2 separate regions of the Homo sapiens genome follow, and region 1 is linked to region 2. The links are contacts of gene promoters, found by promoter capture Hi-C in human tissues and cell types (Jung and others, 2019). All regions are on one chromosome and are shown on one strand. The core of a region is centred on a gene start or on the middle of the fragment in contact, and the rest is flanking DNA. Distances in the headings are between cores, read along the strand shown. Region 1 holds the start of SLC37A4 (solute carrier family 37 member 4). Region 2 holds the start of NLRX1 (NLR family member X1).

Evidence for each region. The method cuts DNA at HindIII sites, captures the fragments that hold promoters and counts their contacts. A contact is called where the count stands out against the background at its distance.
Region 1: a contact is called between the fragment with the promoter of SLC37A4 here and the fragment with the promoter of NLRX1 in region 2, in 1 of the 25 tissues and cell types used here (psoas muscle).

What each region holds. Positions count from the first base shown.
Region 1 is chr11:119,029,627-119,035,341 of GRCh38, forward strand. SLC37A4 (solute carrier family 37 member 4) reads right to left here and starts at 1,251. Exons shown (of 10, transcript NM_001467.6): 1 at 1,223-1,251. RefSeq lists a silencer at 706-865. The HindIII fragment of the contact is 21,386 bases long and covers 1-5,715 here.
Region 2 is chr11:119,165,217-119,170,975 of GRCh38, forward strand. It overlaps NLRX1 (NLR family member X1), which reads left to right and starts at 3,509. Exons shown (of 10, transcript NM_001282144.2): 1 at 3,509-4,086. RefSeq lists a silencer at 3,418-4,027 and enhancers at 3,599-4,304, 4,305-5,009. The HindIII fragment of the contact is 23,273 bases long and covers 1-5,759 here.

The DNA.
Region 1 (5,715 bases), core at 1-2,500, 140 kb before region 2:
CGGAAGGAGGCATGCCTGTGAGCCAGGCCAGCACCCTGTGTCCCCAGGATTTCTGCCTTTACCTCCTCTATCATGTCTGCTTGCCTGTGAAACCAGCTTTGATTAAAGGTTCAACCTAATTACTTTTGTCTGCCTGAGCCCAGGGGAGGCAGGGGTGGGATGAGCAGAGATGCCCTCTCTAGCCCTGCTCCCTCAGTCACAGAACCTTCTCATTCATTCACGGAAGGTTTATTAACTTACTAGTTGACAGGCACTGCACTTGGCACTATTAGTTTCTACACCCACTCACCACCACCGCACCAAAACACAAAGTCAGACACATACCCCGGCTACCCCACTTCTAAGCCTTCTAGAGAGGGCCTCAATCCGTGGAACTCTCAATACTTAGCACATAATAGATTTAATTGTTTCCTACAGTTGCCCCTTGTAATTCTGTGCAAGGGGGACCTCCCCAGTTCAGGTCCCACGGTGTCACACAGAAAGCCCCGCTAAGGGCTGAGGTCCTGATGGGGCCCCACAGAGCTACCTCTGGGTCCCCATTACCCTGCGACGTCAGTCTGGGCTTCCTTCGGGCTAGCTGGGGGCTGCAGGGTCTGGTTTCCAACCTGTGGGACGTTGGCAGGGGCCGCAAGCAGAGGGACTGGGCAGCTCGTGGGCGGGAAGGTGCCCCGGCGGGCTTCGGGCTGCAGGGCACAACCGTCCCGCCCAGGGCCCCGGCAACATGCCCCGGCTTTTCCGCTCAATTGGGAAAGCAACTGGAGCAGAAGGCGTAGGCGCACGCGGAGCGGGCGACCGCACGTATTCTCCCGGAGGCCCCGCGCTTCTGGCACCCAGAGGCTCAGCCTGGTAGGGGAGGGCCAGGCGGCGGGCGGGAGAGGAGGAGAGGCGGCGGGCGGCGAAGAGGCGGCGGGCTCGTGGCACCTGCCCAGCCCCGTGGGTCCTCACGCTACCCAGGACACGCTACTGTGCGGCTGGGAACCACGGGGGCCGGGGGTGCAGGAGCTGGAGAGGTGCGGAGACCACAGGACTGGCGCGATAGAAAGGGGTCTCGTGCTGGTGGTCAGGGACAGCGCCTCGGTGGCCCCAAGACCCATGAATTGTCTCTGGAACTGCAGGAACAGCTCCGGGTCGTATCGGAAGTTGGGGTTCGCCAACAATGGCTCCCCAAGACCTGAGATCCCCGCCCTCAGGTGACTCCCCTCCCCCGCATACCGCCTCCTACCTGAACAGAGGCGGGAGCCCGAATAGGACGGGGCGGGGCTAGCGAAGGCTGCGCAAGCGCGGCCGGCGGGGGCGTGGTCTTCGCCTGCTGCTTCGCTTGCCGGCCAGTGGAGTTCCCCGCCCCACATGCCGGGGACGTCGACTTACTCCCTCCCGCTGGTCACGCTGCTCCTTGGACGAACGAGCATAGCGCCCCTTAGGGGCTGGGCACGGCATGTCCAATTCTTAAGTGGTTGCATTCAACAAACCAGTTTTTAGTGAGTGCCCTCCTCTACAAAACACACCGAACACTAAGGTGATAATCATTGTTCCCAAGTTGCTCACAGTCTGGGAAAGGTGTTGTAGGAACACACAGTATTTTCTTTTTTTCTTTTTTTTTTTTTTTGAAACAGTCTCGCTCAGTCGCCCAGGCTGGAGTGCAGTGGCGCGATTTCGGCTCACTGCAAGCTCCTCCTCCCGGGTTCACACCATTCTCCTGCCTCAGCCTCCCGAGTAGCTGGGACTACGGGCGCCCACCACCACGCCCGGGTAATTTTTTGTATTTTTAGTAGAGACGGGGTTTCACCGTGTTTGCCAGGATGGTCTCGATCTCCTGACCTCGTGATCCGCTCACCTCGGCCTCCCAAAGTGCTGGGATTACAGGCGTGAGCCACCGCGCCCAGCCCACAATTTGGAATTTTAACTTGTGGTTAGATTGTTGGGGACAGAGACGGGGCCTGGAGTAAATATCAAATTCTAGTCCTAGACCCACAGCATTCTAACTGTATGACCTTGGTTAATCTCTATGAGCTCCCGTTTCCTACCAGCCTGGTAGATCATTGTGAAGACTCAACAGATGATTTAGATAAGAGCTCAGAAATTCTATAAGAGTTCTCAACAACAATGGTTTTCACTGATCCCAGTTAAGAGTTGTGAGGAGTAACAGTAGTGATGCTATTTTACAACAATGATGACTGTGTTCTCAGAAACAGAGCAAATGTTAACCCTGCCCATAGCTTCAACAGAAGGTAACATAGCCTAACAAAGTCCCCAACAGTCCCAATCAGCCAGCACTTCCCGACCTCTCCCCAATAGAAACGATATTATAAAAGCCTCAGCTTGTAAGCGATCAGGGTCTCAGCCAGACTCCTGACTGGAACTCCTTGCAGGCTTATTCCTGTGAATAAACCTGTTTGGCCGTTGAGTTGCCTCCTGTCTCTCGCTCTCTTCCCTTATATCTTCCTAACAAGAGTGGCTGAAGGAATTGTAAGTGTTCCAAAATTGAGAGCAAAGATCTTTTACTCCAGAGAAGATGGTCAGGGAAGGGAGGAGGAGGAGATGAGATAAAATAGGATGACAGGCCGGACGCGATGGCTCATGCTTGTAATCCCAGCACATTGGGAGGCCAAGGCGGGCAGATCACTTGAAGTCAGGAGTTCGAGACCAGCCTGGCCAACATGGTGAAACCCTGTCTCTACTAAAAATACCAAAATTAGCCAGGCTTGGTGGCACACGCCTGTAATCCCAGTTACTGGGGAGGCTGAGGCAGGAGAATTTCTTGGACCTGGGAAGCAGAGGTTGCAGTGAGCCGAGATCGTGCCACTGCACTCCAGCCTGGGTGACAGAGCGAGAGCCTGTCTCAAAAAAAAAAAAAAAAAAATAGGATGACGATGTCACTGAACTTCGTTAATTCAAAATCGGGGAGGAGCCTAGTTTGTACCAGGCACTGTGCTTTCAGCCAGGTAGATCCAAGGACCAGGAAACAGTTCCTCCGAAACCAAACCAGAGCAGATTCTTACTTTACCTAATAGAGGAGTAGGAAGCCATCAGGTTTTTCTCCGCTTTTATTTTTAAGATTTAACATACACATAATAAAATACAAAAAGTGCAGGAATCTTACATGTACAACTCAGTGATTTTTTACACATGTTAATACCCGTGTAACCACCACCTAAATTAACAGCCCTATCGTTTTGTTTTGGAAGTGGAGTGATCTCAGCTCACTGCAACCTCCTTCTCTGGGGTTCAAGCGATTCTCCTGCCTCAGCCTCCCGAGTAGCTGGGATTACAGGCATGCCCCACCATGCCCAGCTAATTTTGTAATTTTAGTAGGGGTAGGGTTTCTCCATGTTGGTCAGGCTGGTCTCAAACTCCTGACTTCAGGTGATCTGCCCCCCTTGGCCTCCCAAAGTGCTGGGATTACAGGCATGAACAACTGCACCCAGCCAACCCGGTTAATTTTTCTATTTTTTGTAGAGACAAGAGTTTCACCATATTGGCCAGGCTGGCCTCGAAATCCTGAGCTCAAGGGATCCACCTGCCTTGGTCTTCCAATATCCTGGAATTACAGGCATGAGCCACTGTGCCTGGTCGATGGTGTTTATTTGTTTGTTTGTTTGTTTTTGAGACAGAGTCTTGCTCTGTCGGCCAGGCTGAAGTGCAGTGGCAGGATCTCGGCTCACTGCAACCTCTGCCTCCTGGGCTCAAGCCATTCTCCTGCCTGAGCCTCCTGAGTAGCTGGGATTACAAGCATGTGCCACCACGCCCAGCTAATTTTTGTATTTTTAGTAGAGACAGGGTTTCACCCTATTGGCCAGGCTGGTCTCGAACTCCTGACCTCAGGTAATCCGCCCACCTCGGTCTCCCAAAGTGCTAGGATTACAGGCGTGAGCCACTGCGCCCGGTCTGTTTTTTTTGTTTGTTTGTTTGTTTGTTTGTTTGTTTTTGAGACAGGCTTGCTCTGTTGCCCAGGCTGGAGTGCAATGGTATCTTAGCTCACTCTAACCTCAAATTCCTGAGCATTGAGCGATCCTCCCAAGTAGCTAAGACTACAGGACCAGGCCACCTGGGTTCAAGCGATTCTTCTGCCTCAGCTTCCTGAGTAGTTGGTATTATAGGTGCCCGCAAACACGCCTGGCTAATTTTTGTATTTTTAGTACAGACAGGGTTTCTTTCTTTCTTTTTTTCTTTTTCTTTCTTTTTTTTTTTTTTTTTTTTGAGACAGAGTCTCGCTCTCTCGCCCAGGCTGGAGTGCAGTGGCACCATCTGGGCTCACTGCAAGCTCCGCCTCCCAGGTTCATGCCATTCTCCTGCCTCAGCCTCCCGAGTAGCTGGGACTACAGACACCCGCCACCACGGTCAGCTAATTTTTTGTATTTTTAGTAGAGACGGGGTTTCACTGTGTTAGCCAGGATGGTCTCGATCCTGACCTCGTGATCCACCCGCCTCGGCCTCCCAAAGTGCTAGATTACAAGCGTGAGCCACCGCACCCGGCGTACAGAGGGGGTTTCGCCATGTTGGCCAGGCTAGTCTCAAACTCCTGAGTTTAGGTTATCCACCTGCCTCAGGCTCCCAAAGTGCGGCGATTACAAGCATGATCCATCGCACCCAGTCAGTGGGAATTAAATGGAAAAACATTTTAAAGCACTTTATGATCAGGATAGTAGGGACTCAAATGCTAGTTTGCTCACTGTATTTCCAAAGAATGTTAAGAAATGAGAAGATAGGCCGGGCATGGTGGCTTACTCCCGTAATCCCAGCACTTTGCGAGGCTGAGGCGCGCGGATCATGAGGTCAGGAGTTCGAGACCAGCCTGACCAACATGGTGAAACCCTGTCTCTACTAAAAATACAAAAATTAGCCGGGTGTGGTGGTGTACACCTGTAATCCCAGCTAATCAGGAGGCTGAGGCAGGAGAATCACTTGAACCTGGGAGGCAGAAGTTGCAGTGAGCTGAGATGGCGCCATTGCACTCCAGCCTAGGTGACAGAGTGAGACTCCGTCTCAAAAAAAAAAAAAAAGAAAGAAAGAAAGAAAAGAAAAAGAAATGAGAAGATGACATCCCAATACAGTACAAAGACTTTACTAAGGGATAATAAAAGGTAATTTGAACAAACGTAAATCATACTACATGCCTGAAAAACAAGCTATGACTTTGATACTGTCCAAATGTCAATCCATTCAAAATTCATTTGGCATTTTAAAACCATCCCAATCTATATCCCAACAGAATTTGTTGGAAACTGGACAAAGTTTTTATTTTTTTTTCAGAAGCCATAGAAATGAATGGACAACATTATTTTAAATATCATCCGAGGTTGGGCCCAGTGGCTCATGCTTACAATCCCAACACTTTGGAAGGATGGCTTGAGGTCAGGAGTTTGAGACCAGCCTGGGCAACGTAGTGAGACCCCATTGCTACAAAAAATTTAGAAATTAGCCAGGTGTGGTGGCATGTGCCTCTAGTCCTATCTACTCAGGGGCTTAGACGGGAAGAGACCTTGAGCCTAGGAGTTCAAGGCCTCAGTGAGCTATGATTGTAGCACTGCACTCCAGCCTAGGCTACAAGAAAGACCTTGTTTCAAAAAAATTTTTTATCTCATGTATGATTTTAACTATGATAAAAGGGACATCCTGCACAGGTGCAGTGGCTTATGCTGTAATTCAACCACTTTGGAAGGCTGAGGTGAGAGGGTTGATTGAGTCCAGGAGTTCAAGACCAGCCTGGGCAACATA
Region 2 (5,759 bases), core at 2,259-4,758:
CTCAATCTCCGGACCTCGTGATCCACCCGTCTCGGCCTCCCAAAGTGCTGGGATTACAGACATGAGCCACCACTCCCGGCGAGATACTGTACTCTTGCCACTGTGCCCTACCCCATGTTCCTCCCACCAGTCCCAGTAACCTGCTGAGTTGGAGCATAAATGCTCCCTGCCCATCTAAGTATGTTTTGAAGTGGGCCCTCTCTCCCTAAGTGCCAAAGTACCTAAGTACCTGGGCTTACAGATCATCTTTTTTTTTTTCTTTTTTGAGACGGAGTCTCACTCTGTAGCCCAAGCTGGAGTGCAGTGGCGTGATCTCGGCTCACTGCAACCTTCGCCTCTGGGGCTCAAGCAATTCTCCTGCCTCAGCCTCCCAAGTAGCTGGGACTAGAGGCGTGCGCCACCACACCTGGTTAATTTTTTTTGTATTTTTAGTAGAGGCGGGGTTTCACCATGTAGCCCTGATGATCTCGAACTCCTGAGCTCAGGCAATCCACCCACACTGGCCTCCCAAAGTGCTGGGATTACAGGCGTGAGCCACCACGCCCATCTGATATCATCTTCTTTAACACAGTCACCTTCTCTGTGTCCAGACCTATGCAAAGTGCTGAAGACCAGAGTTGACTAAGACAGTTGTCCATGCAATAATTCTTTTTTTTTGAGACAGGGTCTCGCTCTGTCACCCATGCTAGAGTACAGGGTGCAACCATGGCTTACTGCAGCCTCAACTTCCTGGGCTCAAGCGATCCTCCCATCTCAGACTCTAGAGTAGCTGGGACCGCAGGTGCGTGCCACCATGCCTAGCTAATTTTTTAAAAATTATTTTTGTGGAGTCAGGGTTCTATTATGTTGCCCAAGCTGGTCTCAAACTCCTGGGCTCGAGTGATCCTTCTGCCTTAGCCTCCCAAAGTGCTGGGATTACAGGTGTGAGCAACCACACCCCGGCCTCATGCTATAACTTTTTTTTTTTTTTTTAGACAGAGTCTCACTCTGTAGCCAAGGCTGGAGTGTGTAGTGGCATGATCGCGGCTCACTGCAACCTCTGCCTCCTGGGTTCAAGCGATTCTCCTGCCTCAGCCTCCTGAGTAGCTGGGACTACAGGTGCCTGCCACCAAGCCTGGCTAATTTTTTTGTATTTCTAGTAGAGACGGGGTTTCACCACGTTGGTCAGGCTGGTCTCGAACTACTGACCTCAGGTGATCCACCCACCTCGGCCTCCCAAAGTGCTGGGATTATAGGGTGAGCCACTGCACCGCATCCTAGGTCAGACAACAGAGGACATGCCCACGGCATGACTCACAGTACTTCTGTCTGCAAGAGGCCAGTCAAAGTATATGTTATTAATAAAACCTACATGGTTGTCGTACCCATGGGGAAGGTGACAGGGGAGGAAAACAGATTGCTCTGAGCTGTGTCCAGGAACTGCTGCCAGGTGACTGTCTTGCATGGCTAGGTAAGTGGAATGAAGCTAGAGGAGATTACCAGGCCCAAACTGTCACCCATGAGACTACATTCATGGGGTTCCTATACTTCCCCTCCCACATCCTATTCTACTCCCCTTGAAGAACCTCTTTTAAAATGCAAATGTGTTGTTCACCCTGCTGCTGGGATGCCCTGCCTTTCCTTTCTCTGATTTATTTATTTATTGAGACAGGGTCTCTCTCTGTTGCCCAGGTTGGAGTGCAGTGGTGCAATCTTGGCTCACTGCAACCTCCGCCTCCCAGGTTCAAGCAATTCTCCTGCTTCAGTCTCCTGAGTAGCTGTGATTATGGGCATGTGCCACCATGCCCAGCTAATTTTTTGTGCTTTTGTTTTTATTTTTGAGACACGGTTTTGCTTTATCTCCCAGGCTAGAGTGCAGTGGCATGATCTCGGCTCACTGCAACCTCTACCTCCCAAGTTCAAGCAATTCTTGTGCCTCAGCCTTCTGAGTAGCTGGTACTACAGGCCCATGCCACCACGTCTGGTTGATTTTTTTTTTTTTTTTGATACAGAGTCTTGCTCTGTCTCCCAGGCTGGAATGCAGTGGCGTGATCTTGGCTCACGGCAACCTCCGCCTCCTGGATTCAAGCGATTCTCCTGCCTAAGCCTCCTGTGTAGCTGGGACTGCAGGCATGCACCACCCAGCCCGGCTAATTTTTGTATTTTTAGTAGAGATGAGGTTTCACCACGTTGCCTAGGTTGGTCGTGAACTTCTGAGCTCAGGCAATCCGCCTGCCTTGGCCTCCCAAAGTGCTAGGATTACAGGCATGAGCCACCATGCCTGGCCAATTTTTGTTATTTTTAGTAGAGACGGGGGTTTCACCATGTTGGCCATGGTGACGAGTTTGAGCTGGTCCCAAACTCCTGGCCTCAGGAGATCTGCCCTCACCCCCAGCCTTCCAAAGTGCTGAGATTACAGGTGTGAGCCACCGCGGCTGGTCCTCTGATTTATTTTTTCAGATCCAGTACAAATGTTACCTCCTCTGCACTCCCTTTTCCAGACTCTCCTAATGCCTTGCCTCTGCCACTGAAGTACATCATTTGTTTGTCTGTTTTTTATATTTTTATTTTCTATTTTCATTTTAAATAGAGACAGGGTCTCACTATGTCACCCAGGCTGGTCTCAAACTCCTGGTCTCAAGTGATCCTCCTGCCTCGGCCTTGAAGTACATCATTTGTAAATGTGGTAGTTGATTCCATTAAAGTGAGGTGCCTGCCTTGCTGTGGTTGGCAGCCCAGGGCCTAGTGCTGGACCTGGCTTGTGGGGGTGAGGTGCTCAGTGCTACCCAATACCACAGTACAACGAATGAACAAATGTCTAAATGAAACATCCACATTGTTTTCAGTAAGTCCTCTTCCCAGCCCTGCCCTGGAGAGCCTCTCTGTGGGTGCCCTAGTGCACAGCTCTGTTGTGTGAACATCGTACACTCATGCTTGCATACGAAGGCGTGCCCTGGCTGTGGGTGGTGGGTGGCTCCTCCTTCTGGGCTACGTGAGCCCAGGGTGTGGAAGTGTGTGGAAGTGTAGGGATAAGGGTGGGGGCTTTGGGAACTGGGAAGCCCCAGGGCTAGGCCATGAATGGGTGTCAGACCCGAAGAGCAGGTTGGGGTGCAAGTTGTCCTTCAGCCCCCATTCTTCCTTCTTTCTTAACCAAGGTTACCAGCAGCCACACACATAGGTCTGGGCTCTGAAGAGGACCGGATACATAAGGCAGAACCCAAGGAAGCCTTAGGCTCAGGTCTCTGCCTGAAGGTAGGCTGGGGAGGCGGAGAGGGACAGAGGGAAGAATCCCCTGGACACCGCGCCTCAGGGAGGCCCAGGGGTAAGGTAGGAAGACTCAGGCCCGGGATGTTGTTCTGGCTCATCCACTTCCTAACTGAATCAACCTGCACAAGTCATTTCACCCTTCTGAGCATCAGTTTCTTCATCTGTAAAATGGGCCTAACAAGCAGCCCAGCCTGGGAGGTGGTTAGTGAGGTCACTGGGTGTCACTGGCGCTTGGGAACCTGCAGAGGGCAGTACTAGCGGCAGTGCCCGCGGGGATGGAGGCAGGGAGGGGGGACGATGGCGGGACGGGTGGCGCCGGGGTTCCAGCCCTGCGCCTGCTCCGGAGCACCGGGCCCCTCTCGCTGACCCCCTCGTCCCAGGACCCCGCAGGCCCGAGTGCCTGGGCTCGTCCTCTTTCGCGCCCGCTGCCAGGTGCCAGGGCCGCGCAGGCGGGCGGAGGTGGGCAGGAAGCGCCACGCCGAGGAGCCGGGGACTCTGGGAGCTAGCGGGAGACGCCGGCGTCCGCCCAGCCGACCCCTCTGGGCCGCGGCCGACGGCTCCCGGAACTGGGCAGCCGCGGGTAAAGGCCTAGCGGGCTTGATAACCCCTGCGCCCTGGCTGGGAGGCCGCGCTGAGCGGGGGGCAGGGCGGGCCGGGGGAGGAGGCTGTGCAAGGGCCGCGGGGAGATCCCGGCCGAGAACGAGAGGGACGGAGCTGGGCGCTGAATGGCGGGCGTTCTGGCAAGTCTCCCCCTGCGTTCCCGAGGCCACCCGAAAGTAGGAGAGCTGTTTGGGACCCAGTTTGGTGGAGGAGCTCTGGACCTGTAGGAACACCGCCCCTGTACGTTTCCTGCAGTGCCCCCTCCTTTTCTCATTGCCCTGGAGACCTGGGTGATCACCGGAGAACTGCCCTCGGCCCCGCAAGTCCCGTCTTGACTCAGTGGCCCTAGATCCGAGGTTAAACCGGAACCTAGGCTTTCTCAGGCTTCTGGAGCCCTCTCTTAACCCTTCCGCAGCCCCTGGGACGGGCCAGCACCCAGCCAGCTCCTCCGCTGGTTGGCCCTGCTAAGGCAGGTGGCCCAATGCAGCCAGTTCTCCTTAAGCGTACCCTGCCCAAGAAGCCCCGATCTCAGTGGAGGAGACCAGGTGCCAAATAGGGGCACATTCCATTTAAGTGAGTTCAGAGGCCTCAGAAAAGACTTCCCAGGGACGGAGACTTTTGAGCAGGATCTTAAAAGATTGGTTGGGGCCCGAGTGGTGGCTCGCGCCTGCAGTCCCCGCACTTTGGGAGGGCAAGGCGGGCGGATCACTTGAGCCCAGGAGTTCGAGACCACCCTGGGCAACAATGGTGAAAACCCCGTCTCTACAAAAACCAAAGCCAAAAATTAGCCAGGTGTGGTGGCACACCACTTTAGTCCTAGCTACTCAGGAGGCTGAAGCAGGAGGATGGCTTGAGCCCAGGAGGTAGAGGTTGCTGTGAGCTGAGATCGTACTACTGCACTCCAGCCTGGGCAACAGAGCGAGAGACCCTGTCTCAGGAAAAAAAAAAAAAAAAAAAAAAAAAAAAAAAAAATTGGTTGGGACTCTAACAGAGGAAAAAGGTCATTCCAAACTGGGAAGAGTGTATGAACAAATTTAGGACAGCAAGAGCAAGAATCCGGTGAGCCTGGGGTATAAGGCACAGGCTGGGACAAACTCAGAAAAATAGCTTGTGGGAGCCCAGTGTTTGGACTCTATAAGTAACCTTGGACTTTTCGGGAGGTGCTTGGTGCTTGGGGTGAGGGATTAGAATGGGATGAGACTGAAGGCAGAAAGGCTGGTGAGGAGATCGGGTCCAATAAATGCTGGTCGGGGCAGCAACTGGCTGGCAAAGCAGTGGGGAGGAATTGCTAGGACTCTTCACACTGCCTAAAGGAGCAAGGGAAGAAAGATTTGAAGAGAGAGGTCAGGTTTCTAATGTAAGGCGTGGGTGGGAAGATTTGCAGCAAGGTAAATGACAAGAGGAGGGGAATGATGAGTTCAGTTTTACATGGGAGAAGTTTGAAGCAGTGGCAGGTTGTCCATCTGGAGATGTCAAGTGAGAAGTTCATTCATTTATTTATTATTTATGTCAGCCTCAAAGGCTGCTTACATAAAAGTCACAGAGAACATAAAATGATGAAGCCATTAAAACTCAGCTAAAAGGATCTGATATCTGCGGAAGAAAGGCAGAGTGGGGTGGATAATTATTACTGGAAAATCTAGGCACAGAAAAGCCACTGAAAATGAACACAGGACTCCTATCTGAGCTTGCTGGTGGCCAAGAAGGAAAAAGGACACCTAAATAAAGCAGTTTACCAGGGTGGAACTCAGGGAAAGGTGTTCGTGAAGCTTCAGGGGAGAGGCAAGACGTGGCAGGAAGGCCAGGTGTGATGGCTCACACTTGTAATCCCAGCACTTTGCAAGGCCAAGGCAGGCAGATTACCTGAGGTCAGAAGTTCAAGACCAGCTTAACCAACATGGTAAACCCCGTCT